Regions from separate parts of the Homo sapiens genome. Here region 1 is linked to region 2. Evidence: promoter capture Hi-C in 16 types of primary human blood cells and fetal thymus (Javierre and others, 2016). All regions are on one chromosome and are shown on one strand. Each heading gives the region's core, a stretch centred on a gene start or on the middle of the fragment in contact. The rest is flanking DNA. Distances are from core to core; before and after follow the strand shown.

Evidence for each region. Contacts are between HindIII fragments. The CHiCAGO score rates a contact against its expected background, and 5 or more counts as called.
Region 1: the fragment with the promoter of ATP4A here is called in contact with the fragment with the promoter of ZNF792 in region 2 in 4 of 17 cell types (neutrophils, monocytes, naive CD4 T cells and 1 more); the score reaches 10.7 in neutrophils.

What each region holds. Positions count from the first base shown.
Region 1 is chr19:35,559,780-35,565,518 of GRCh38, reverse strand. ATP4A (ATPase H+/K+ transporting subunit alpha) reads left to right here and starts at 1,861. Exons shown (of 22, transcript NM_000704.3): 1 at 1,861-1,901; 2 at 1,992-2,135; 3 at 2,251-2,310; 4 at 2,881-3,084; 5 at 4,587-4,700; 6 at 4,904-5,156; 7 at 5,446-5,714. The coding sequence starts at 1,890. RefSeq lists an enhancer at 205-706. The HindIII fragment of the contact is 9,853 bases long and covers 1-5,739 here.
Region 2 is chr19:34,962,559-34,968,446 of GRCh38, reverse strand. ZNF792 (zinc finger protein 792) reads left to right here and starts at 4,218. Exons shown (of 4, transcript NM_175872.5): 1 at 4,218-4,817. The coding sequence starts at 4,785. LOC124904699 (a long non-coding RNA gene) reads right to left here and starts at 5,021. Exons shown (of 2, transcript XR_007067236.1): 1 at 4,774-5,021; 2 at 527-756. RefSeq lists silencers at 4,457-4,716, 4,827-4,876. The HindIII fragment of the contact is 6,406 bases long and covers 1-5,082 here.

The sequences.
Region 1 (5,739 bases), core at 612-3,111, 600 kb before region 2:
TGTGCAAAGTGCAGCAGAGAGGTCAGTGCCCCTGGAAACCTAGCAGCAACAGAGGCAGGACAGGTGACCAGGGCCAGATGTTGCAGGAAGGAGTGCAGAGTTTATTCTGAGTGGGAAGGGAAGGCTTTGGAGGGTTGTAAGCAGGGGGTGACACAAGCTGTTTGACATACATGGCTCAGAGCTGATGGGAGCCCAGTGAGCGAGTAGATTCACTACAAGGACAGCATGTGGCCCCACGCCACCTCTTCTTTGGAGGTTTCTTCTAGCAGGCTGGGGATGACCAGCCGTGTGGGTGCGGGGAGGAGCTCTGGCTGCCCAACAGCTTTGAGTTTCCCAGGTGACCTGCCCCAGTAGAGAAGGACATTGCCAGGGCAGTTATCTTATCAGGCGCACGCTCACCTGCTCCTGGAGACACGCTCACCCCATAACATACCAAGGTCCCCACCATTCCACTGGCCCAGCCCCTCGCTGCTGCTGCCCATGGAGGTCCCTACCTGAGGGATGAGGAGGGAGTCCCCAGGCCTCCTGGCATCTGTCACCCAACACCAAGATCAAGCCAAGACCCTTGGACACATCCTTTCCCCATGTTGCACCTTGGTTTCCCCATCTAGGGTAGGGACGGGGAATGGTTGAGAGCTGTAAAGTCTGTAGCTGGATATGTGAGTCCCTGTGAGCCTCAGTTTCCCCCTCTGCACAACAGGAATGATAGTTCTGCCTGCACAGGGTTTTTTGCAAAGACCCGTGAGGTCACACGTGCAGAGCCTGGCATGTGTGTGGTGCTGCTGCAGTGAAGTTTGGGTTTTTCCATTGGTGGTGCCATAGAAGAGCTAGGCTCTGGGGTCAAGCCCTGGGGTCAAGCCCGGGCTGGAACCCTGTCCCTAATTCTTAGACGTTGAAATCTTCTGCAAAGTCCCTGATGGGGGCTAAGAAGAGAATATTGCTTTACAGGGCTGCTGTTAGATGCTAAGGAAACCATTTGAGTGACACACAGAGCACACCCAGCCCATAGTGAATAGTCAGAGTTCAGTAAACATTCAGCCACCATAGAGAGTGTTGTAAGCATGGCAGGGCATGGTGGCTCACGCCTGTAATCCCAGCACTTTGGGAGGCCAAGGCGGGTGGATCACCTGAGGTCAGGAGTTCGAGACCAGCCTGGCCAACCTGGTGAAACCCCGTCTCTACTAAAAGTACAAAAATTAGCTGGGTGTGGTGGCATGTGCCTGTAGTCCCAGCTACTCAAGAGGCTGAGGCAGGAGAATCACTTGAACCCGGGAGGCGGAGGTTGCAGCGAGCTGAGATTGCACCACTGCACTCCAACCTGGGTGTCAGAGTGACACTCCATCTCAAAAAAAAAAAGAAAAAAAAAAAGAGTGTGGGAGCACCCTCCTCTTCCAGTTGATCAGGCACGTGCTATTTAGACTGAAAGAGGACACTCTGCAGCCAGCTGATCTGGTTCTCACTCCATTATGTCCTAGCCTGTGATGGAGCCATAGGAGAATGACTCAACCCCTCCATGCCTCAGTTTCCCCATCTGTAAAGGGTCTTGTCCCCTCAAAGGGTTATTGGAAGGTTAAATAAGTTAGCACATGGAAGCCGTCAGCACAATGCCCAGCGCATAATGAGCACCTTATGTTTGCTCTTCTTGTTGCTGCAGCGGTTCCCAGGGGCTCCCTGATCTCAGGGCAGGTTGACATGGGGGGATCTGGGCAGGGGAGGGGGGGGCCAGCCCAGGAGGGAATGCCTGAGGTGCCCAGGCCTAGAGGTCACCCCAAGGAGCCTGTAATCAGCTGTGGTCGGGCGGTTCTGCTCCACCCCACCGCCCTCCCTGGGTATATCAGGACTGGTCCGGGCCCAGGCTCTGTTGGGTGGGAGCACAGGCACCGGGCACCATGGGGAAGGCCGTGAGTGGGGCCCAGGGGTCCGGGGTGCAGTGGGGACAGGGGTTGCAGTGGAATCTGAGTTCTCCCTCCCTCCATCCTGTCCATTCCCAGGAGAACTATGAGCTCTACTCGGTGGAGCTGGGTCCTGGCCCTGGCGGGGACATGGCTGCCAAGATGAGCAAGAAGAAGAAGGCGGGTGGCGGGGGTGGCAAGAGGAAGGAGAAGCTGGAGAACATGAAGAAGGAGATGGAGATTGTGAGCTCTGACTGGGGAGGGGCGGGAGCTGGAGGGTAGGCTGGGAACCAGGCAGTGGGCGGGGAGGGGGCCAGGAGAGCCCAGAGCAAGCACCCTGCCCCACCCCACCACACAGAACGACCACCAGCTGTCAGTGGCGGAGCTGGAACAGAAATACCAGACCAGTGCCACCAAGGTGAGCTGGAGACTGGGAGCGTACAGAAAGGGGAGGAGGAGAGAGGGAGGGAGAGGGAGATGGAAGGAGGGAGATGGAGAGAGGGAGAGAGAGGGAGAGATGAAGAGAGGAAGATATGGAGAAATAGAGAGAGGGAGGGAGGCAGAAAAGGAAAGAGGGAGGGAGGGAGAGAGGAAAGGATGGAGGGAGGGGAGGAGAGAGGGAGGGAGATGGAGAGAGGGAGAGAGAGGGAGAGGGAGAGAAGGGAGAAAGCATTAGAGAGAAAGGGTGACACACAGAGACGGAGAGAGGAGTAGCTGAAAAGAGACAGCAAGACAGAGAAGGCAGAGACAAATAAGGAGAGAGCAGCAGGAGAGAGACACATAGAAAGGGGAGCGAGGAGAGAGAGACAAAGGGAGAGATGAAGGAGGGAGGGAGAGATGGGGTGGGGGCAGGAACCAAGAGACAAAGAGATGAGAAGGAGCAGGACAGACCAAGCTGGAGAAGGGAAACTGAAGCAGGGGGCTTTCCACGGGGTGTGCATGTGGAGGAAAGCCCCCAGGACCGCCTCGCCCTGCCCCTCTGTCCCAGGGCCTCTCTGCGAGCCTGGCTGCTGAGCTGCTGCTGCGGGATGGGCCCAACGCACTGCGGCCACCACGGGGCACCCCAGAGTACGTCAAGTTCGCGAGGCAGCTGGCCGGGGGCCTGCAGTGCCTCATGTGGGTTGCCGCCGCCATCTGCCTCATCGCCTTTGCCATCCAGGCTAGTGAGGGGGACCTCACCACCGACGACAATGTGAGCCATGTTGTGGGGACAGGCTCAGGACATGGGGACCTGGGGATGGAAGACACTGAGCCTGGGACTTGGGACAAGAGGGGCAGAGAAGGATGGGGATAGACGAACACGAAAGGCAGTCTCAAGACAGGGGTCATGGAGGGTGAAGGACATTGGGATATGGATGGGGCAGACCCAAGGACACAGGACACAGGGACACTGGGGTGAATCTTGGGTATGGGGACATAGGTGGGGGCATAAAGAGTATGGCAATGTGATACGTAAGAGATGGGATTTGGAGGCCGGGCGTGTAATCCCATGCCTGTAATCCCAGCACTTTGGGAGGCCGAGGCGGGCAGATCACCTGAGGTCAGGAGTTCGAGACCAGCCTGGCCAACATGGCAAAACCCCATCTCTACTAAAATTACAAAAATTAGCCAGACATGGTGGCGGGCACCTGTAATCCCAGTTACTTGGGAGGCTGAGGCAGGAGAATCATTTGAACCCAGGAGGTGGATGTTGCAGTGAGCCAAGACCATGCCACTGCACTCCAGCCTGGGCGACAGAGCGAGACTGCATCTTAAAAAAAAAAAAAAAAAAAAAAAAAAGAGATGGGACTTGGAAGCAGAGGACATGCAGTGCAGACACAGGACAGACTGAGGCACGGGGAATAGGAGACCCTGGGACTCAGACATAGGACACCAGGGCAGGGACCCAAGCCTCAGGACACAGCACATAGAGAGACACAAAACATGAGACATAGAAGCACAGAGACAGAGAGGAAATGGAGGTGCAGGGCAAGGGACATTGGACATATGGCAGAGATGAGGGCAAGGGACATGGGGACTCAGGGACATGTGACATGGGACAGAGGCTCGAAAAGTCATGGCCATGGGACACAGGATGGGAACTCGGAGATACACAGACATGGGAGACACGGGACACAGTGACTGGGGAGCTAGAACATGGGGGCCGTGGCCACAGAGGACACAGACCATGACGTACAAGGTCTGCAGCACACGCAGGGACGGGGATGTGAGGATGCAGGGACAAGGGGGCCCAGGGGACACACAGAGGGTGGCAGCAGATTATGGAAAACCCAGGATGTGAAACTGGAGACACGGGGAATACAGGCCATGGGGACAGGAGGAGACATGGGACAGTGGACATGGGGAATGCAAGGCTTGGGGACACAGGAGAAGGGAACACGTCAGACCAAGGCACACAGTGATTTGGGGCACAAGTCACAGATATGGGGACATGGAAGATTGAGGATTCAGGGCCAGAGGATATGAAATATACACAGAAACACAAGACACTGAGAAGACAGAGCAGGCGAGTGTGGGACATGAGGGACATGGGAGGGGGCTAAAGGCTACAGGGAATGGTGCATGGAGCTTCCTAGTAGGTGGGGAAAAGCATGGGGAAAACCAAGAAAACCAGGGCACCAGGGAGCAGGTCGGTGGCCTCAGGCAGGCAGCTTCCGGCCCCTCTGAATAACCCCACCCCTTCCCTGTCCCCAGCTGTACCTGGCAATCGCTCTCATTGCTGTGGTTGTCGTCACCGGCTGCTTTGGCTACTACCAGGAATTCAAGAGCACCAACATCATCGCCAGCTTTAAGAACCTTGTGCCACAGGTGGGTTCCCCAGCACCCAGCCACTCCAGATCCCAGAGACTCCAAACTGCTCCTGTAGCCTCCTTCCATCAGGCCCCTGTCCCTCATCTGTGGCCTCCATCTCTCCCCATGGGTCCCAGCTCTCCTCATCCTTTACCTCCCCACATGCAGCAGCTCCCACCCCCACCCCCGTCCACCTCAACTTTGGTGCCCCTGCCCCGCAGCAAGCCACTGTCATCCGCGATGGAGACAAATTCCAGATCAACGCTGACCAACTGGTGGTGGGCGACCTGGTGGAGATGAAAGGTGGGGACAGAGTGCCCGCCGACATCCGCATCCTGGCGGCCCAGGGCTGCAAGGTGGACAACTCCTCGCTGACAGGGGAGTCTGAGCCACAGACCCGCTCACCCGAGTGCACGCACGAGAGCCCTCTGGAGACCCGCAACATCGCCTTCTTCTCCACCATGTGCCTTGAGGGTCTGTGAAGCCCCCGCCTGCCTGCCCAGTAACTGCTGCCTCCACTGGCCTCTCTCCTGCTATCTTCTAGGACAGGGGGCTTCAGCCTCCCTGTCTCTCTCCTGCATGACTGCCACCTCCCCGTGACTGCCACCTCCCCAGGGCACACTGCTTCTCTGTCTCCCACTGTCACTACCCTCTCCCAGGTCACATCCTCCACTGGCAGTGACTGGCTGTCCTTCAGCTCACACGGCAGTGCACACCCCACTGCCGCCCCCTATCCCTGAGTCGCGCCTTGGCCCCCCTGCAGGCACCGTGCAGGGCCTGGTGGTGAACACGGGCGACCGCACCATCATTGGGCGCATCGCATCGCTGGCGTCGGGGGTGGAAAACGAGAAGACACCCATCGCTATCGAGATCGAGCATTTTGTGGACATCATCGCGGGCCTGGCCATTCTCTTCGGTGCCACATTTTTTATTGTGGCCATGTGCATTGGCTACACCTTCCTGCGGGCCATGGTCTTCTTCATGGCCATCGTGGTGGCCTATGTGCCTGAGGGGCTGCTGGCCACTGTCACAGTGAGTGGGGGCAGGCGGGGATGCA
Region 2 (5,888 bases), core at 2,969-5,468:
GGCTTGAGCTCAAGAGGTCAAGGCTGCTGTGAGCCACGATAGTGCCACCGTACTCCAGCCTGGGTGAGAGAATGAGACCCTGTCTCAAAACAAAACAATGTGAAGTGATGCATATGTTAATGAGCTTGATTTAGTCATTCTGAAGCAGGATATTTCCCTGACCCCTTCTTGGATGGGAACTAGAGTACATGGGCGCTGTCAGGGACGAACTCCACTCGCTTGTTGTTCCACCCCTCATGGGGAGGGGAGCACAGGTGAGTGGGTGCAGGAGACAGGGTGAGGGCTTTTGGGTGCTGGCAAGAGCAAATTCCATACTAGCCCCACGGCAGTGTCTAGGGGAAGGTGCTGTGACCCCTGAAGCCCCTGACGAAGTGTTACAGTGCCCTTTTAGCTTTGCCATCCATGCATAGCTTAAGTGTTAACAGCTCAGTGGAGGGTCAGTGCGACAGCCTTTTGTACCCACACTCATGGCACCCAAGTTTTTGTCTGGCATCCAGGAGGAATGAGGTCACACAAACAAATTGAAGATGGTAAATGCAGGGGATTTTATTGCCGGTGAAAGTGGCTCTCAGCAGGAAGAGGAGCTGAAAAGGGGATGGAGCAGGAAGGTAATCGTCCCCTGAAGTTTGGCCATCCCTGGCCATCCTCTCCAAAGCTACGCTGTCAAGCTGTCCCTTTGAAGTCAGCCTGCTTCTCTCCAACATCCAACCATAGTCTCCAATGTCCAGCTGCTTTTCTTCTCTCTGCCGGCTGAGCCTGGGGTTTTTATGGGCATAGGATGGGGGGCAGGGTGAGCCACGGGTGGTTTTGGAAAAGGCAACATTTGAGTGGGAAAACAGGGATGTAAGTTCTCACTTTGGGCCGTGGTATCAAGATTTTCAGCTTGATGGACCTGGCCTCTTCTGCCCAGAATTTCCCTACCTCCTGTCCCTATCAATTCCACAATGTATCTATATTTCAAAACATCATGTTGCATACAATAATTATATATTATTTTATAAATTTAGAAAAACAAAAAAATGCAGCTATAAGAAAATAATAAAATAAAATCAAGTAGGCAAATGTTACTATGGTGTGCTTTCATGTAAAAATCATAACTATTCCCTCTGAGGCGGTACTTGCTGAGTTAGAGTCATTGTATATTTTGACAAACATCCAAAAGACTGCACAGAGGTGTCTCTTCCCTGCCGCCCCACAGCAGTGTTTGTAAGATTCTTGTGATGATGGTGTTGGTAATGACAATAGCTTTTATGCACCCAGCAGGAATTCTGTCCTGGGCCCTGTTATCTACCATTGTAACCACCCAATGGGTTCTTTTTGCCTGCTACAAAAAGACCACGGCATTGCAGTAAACAAAGTCTTTAACTGACACAGGGCCAGCCATGCCATGGGAGAAACAGAGTTATTACTCAACTTGATCTCCCTGAAAATTCAGTGATCAGAGGTTTTCAGGGATAATTTGGTGGGTGGGGGGCCAGGTAGTGGGGAGTGCTGATTAGTTGGGTTAGAGATGAAATCACAGGGAGTCAAAGTTGACTAACTGCACTGAGTAAATTCCAGGGTGGGGACCACAGGACCAGATGACCCAGTTTATCAATCTGGGTGGCACTAGCTGATCCATCGAGTGCTGGGTCTGAAAAATATCTCGAGCACCAATCTTAGGTTTTACAATAGTGATGTTATCCCCAGTAGCAATTGGGAAGGTTTAAAATCTTGTGACCCCTGGCCCCTGGCTGCATGACTCCTAAACCATACTCTCTAATCTTGTGGCTTTTGTTAATCCTACAAAGGCAGTCTGGTCCCCAGACAAGAAGAGGGTTTGTTTCAGGAAAGGGCTGGGTTTTTTTGTTTGTTTTTGTTTTTGAGATGGAGTCTCGCTCTGTTGCCCGGGCTGGAGGCGATCTCAGCTCACTGCAAGCTCTACCTCCCGGGGTTCATGCCATTCTCCTGCCTCAGCCTCCTGAGTAGCTGGGACTACAGGTGCCCGCCACCACACCTGGCTAATTTTTTGTATTTTTAGTAGAGACAGGGTTTCACCATGTTAGCCAGAATGGTCTCGATCTCCTGAACTCGTGATCCGCCTGCCTCGGCCTGCCAAAGTGCTGGGATTACAGGGGTGAACCACCATGCCCGGCCTAGAGGGAAAGGGCTGTTATCTTTGCTTCAAAGTTAAACTGTAAACTGAGTTTCTCCCAAAGTTAGTTAGGCCTATGCTCAGGAACGAACAAGGACAGCTTGGAGGTTAGAAGCAAGATGGAGTTGGTTAGGTCAGATCTCTCACTGTCATAATTTTCTCAGTTATAATTTTTACAAAGGTGGTTTCACCATATGACATGTAGTATCGGGGGAACCCACCCCCGATAATTCAATGTGGGTTCTTTTCTATTTTCCCTAAGTGTCGGCTGGTCTGAGAAATAAAGGGAAAGAGTACAAAAGAGATAAATTTTAAAGCTGGGTGTCTGGGGGAGACATCACATGTCAGCAGGTTCCGTGATGCCCCCGAGCCATAAAACCAGCAAGTTTTTATTGGCAATTTTCAAAGGGGAGGGAGTGTACGAATAGGGTGTGGGTCACAGAGATCACATGCTTTAAGGGCAACAAAAGATCACAAGGCAGAAGGTCAGGGCGAGATCACAAGGTCAGGGCAAAACTAGAATCACTCATGAGCTTCCATGTCCTGCTGTGCACGCATTGTCATTTATAAACATCTTAACAGGGTTCAAGAGCAGAGAACTGGTCTGACTAGAGTTCGCCAGGCTGGAATTTCCTAATCCTAGCAAGCCTGGGGGCGCTGCAGGAGACTAGGGTGTGTTTCATCCCTATCTACATGTGCATAAGGCAGACACTCCCAGGGCAGCCATTTTAGAGGCACTGCCCTGGGAATGCATTATTTTCCCAGGGCTGTTAATTATTAATATTCCTTACTGGGGAAAGAATTCAGCGATATTTCTCTTACCCGTTTTTGGTAATAGGAGAAATATGGCTCTGTCCTGCCCGTCCCACAGGCAGCCAGACTTTAAGGTTATCTCCCTTGTTCCCTGAAAATCGCTGTTATCCTGTTCTTAAGGTGCCCAGATTTCATATTGTTCAAACACACATGCCCTACAAACAATCTGTGCAGTTAACGCAATCATCACAGGGTCCTGAGATGACATACATCCTCAGCTTACGAAGATGACAGGATTAAGAGATTAAAGTAAAGTCAGGCATAGGAAATCACAAGAGTATTGATTGGGGAAGCGATACATGTCCATGAAATCTTCACAATTTATGTTCAGAGATTGCAGTAAAGACAGGCATAAGAAATTATAAAAGTATTAATTTGGGGAACTAATAAATGTCCATGAAATCTTCACAATTAATGTTCTTCTGTCACGGCTTCAGCAGGTCCCTCCGTTCGGGGTCCCTGACTTCCTGCAACAATGTAGTGTTATTTTTCCCATTTTATTTACTGGATTTCAATGAGAGTCCCTGCTGTAAAGTTGGAGCCAGCATTGGAGTCCCCAGAGGGCTTGTTAAAACAGAGAAGGAGGCCTGGCACCATGGCTCACTCCTGCAATTCCCAACACTTTGGGAGGCCGAGGTGAGAGGATCACTTGAGCTCAGGAGTTTGAGACCAGCCTAGGCATCACAGGGAGATCCAGTCTCTACAAAAAATTTTAAAATTAGCTGTGTATGATGGTGCACGCCTGTATCCCATCTACCTGGTAGGCTGAGGCAGGAGGATAGCTTGAGCCCGAGATGGAGGCTGCAGTGAGCTATGATCAGGCCACTGCACTCCAGCCTGGACAACAGAACGAGACCCATCCCCCCCGCCCCCCCCGCAAAAAGTAGAGAAGGCTGAATCCCATCCCCAGAATTTCTGAGTCCTTAGATTTAAGTTGTTGCCCCAGAACCTGCATTTTCAGCCAGTCCCCAGGTGATGCTGATGTTGCTGGTTTGAGAAGCCCTGAATCAGAGCGACATTTAATATTACAACGCAAAGACCCCGCCCATTGGGTACTATCCCCATTTTCCAGTGTGAATTTAGGTCCCTTAGGGGTGAAGCGGCTGGCCGATGCCCACACGCGCAGGAAGAGCACTGGGGCTCTCCTCCTGGACCTCGGAGGGTGGGCGGGGTTTAGCGCGGGCGGCTGCAGGCTCGGGAGCGGCCCCTTTAAGGGGAAGGCCCGAGGGCTGCAGGCGGCGGCGGTGGAGACCCGACGAGATCCGCTCTCCTTCCCGCCCTGGACCCTCAGCCTGACGAGAGGCTGGGCAGAAACTCGCGATCCCCAGGCCCTGCCTGTGCACCAGCGGCTGGCGCCAGGCCAATGACAGTACGGGAGAGGGCAACTCTCCCGGCCGCCACGGTGGGGGCCGGAACTTCCTGCACTGCAGCCTCGCAGGTCATTTCCCGGCGGGGAGGCTGAGTCCCCAGGAGCTGGGGACCCCGAGTTGGGGGCGGGGCGGCTGGGGCTACGCCCGTGAAGCTGCCCCGCCGGCTTTCCCGGACCGCGAGGGGGACAGTGAGGCCGGGACCCCCTCCGCGCCTTTGCACCAGCCGTGACCCCTTGCAACGGGGGTACCCAGCGGAGCTGCGCGCTCTCGGCGCCCCCGGAGCCTGCGCCCCGGGCCCCTTGCGCATTTTGCACGGGGGAGACTGAGGCTAGGAGTGCGACCCTCAGCCCGGGGTCACACCTCGTCTGGGGCACGGCCAGGTGGGTGGTAGCCTCAGCCTGCGAGACCCCCTACCCCCGCCCCGTGGTTTCCCGCACCGTGGGGCCCTGCTCTGACCACAGACTCCGATGGCAGCGGCGGCGCTGCGGGACCCCGCGCAGGTGAGTGCTTGGACGTTAGGCCCTTCGCTGTCGGCCCCCCACGCTTCTGTTCTCGGTGTTGAGACGCAAAAGATGGCTTTGTTCTAGGACTTTTCGCCTTTCCCATTTCCTTGCTTTTGAGTCAGGGGACCCTGGAAGGGAGTTGCTCCCAGCTAGGATCCTGAATCAGGGCAGGGTTTATATAAAGTGGCTTCCGTTGCTGAAATGTAATGGGATGGAGGGAGAAAGGGCTTTGTAGGCACAGGAACCAGCGTGCGCAAAAGCTTGGGGGTGGGGTGGGGCACGGTGTGGAGACTGAGTTGGGAGTGTTCAAGGAACCCCACCCAGGTCAGTGTTATTAATATTATGTCTGCTGGAACCAGAGAGCAGGTGGGCTGAAGACAGCTCAGAACGGCAGAGCTGGGCCTCTGTTCTGAGGGTGTTGGGAGCCATGGAAGGTTTAGGGCAGAGGAGGAAGATGCTGTGACTCAGGTCTTAACAGGCTCCCTGTGGATGCACAGTGGAGAACTGAATATGGAGTGAGCCGCAAGCAGGGATGCCAAGGAGTAGCCTAATGGAATAGCCCAGGCCAGTGCTGCGGCTGGCCGGACCAGAGTGAGGACTGGAGGTAGAGGAAGTGATTGGGAACTTGATGTCTTTTAAGTCAAGCTGACCAAATTTTCCGATGTGGAGGGTGAGAAAGAGGAGGGAAGAATCCATGGTTTTTGGTTTGATGAATCCAGCTTTATGAACTGAGAAGTTGGTTTTAGGAGGAATTTTCCATGGAAGCAGTAGAAGTTAGGTTTTGGCCAAGTTGAGCCTGTGATGTCCCAGAGACCCCCAAATGGAGTTGAAGAGTGGGCCGCTGAACACACAGTTCGGGTGTTCTGAGGGAGTTGTTAAGGTAATGAGAGACTGGATATTCATTCGAACAATGGCCAGATCATGTATACAAATAGAACTCTGCCCCAGAACCTGCCCAGGAAACCAACCCCCTTATCTACAATAAACAACCCATACAGCAGGAAGCCAGCCTGCTGTCTGTCAGACCCACAGGAAGCCAGATTGCTATCTGGACTGACAATCCAGGAA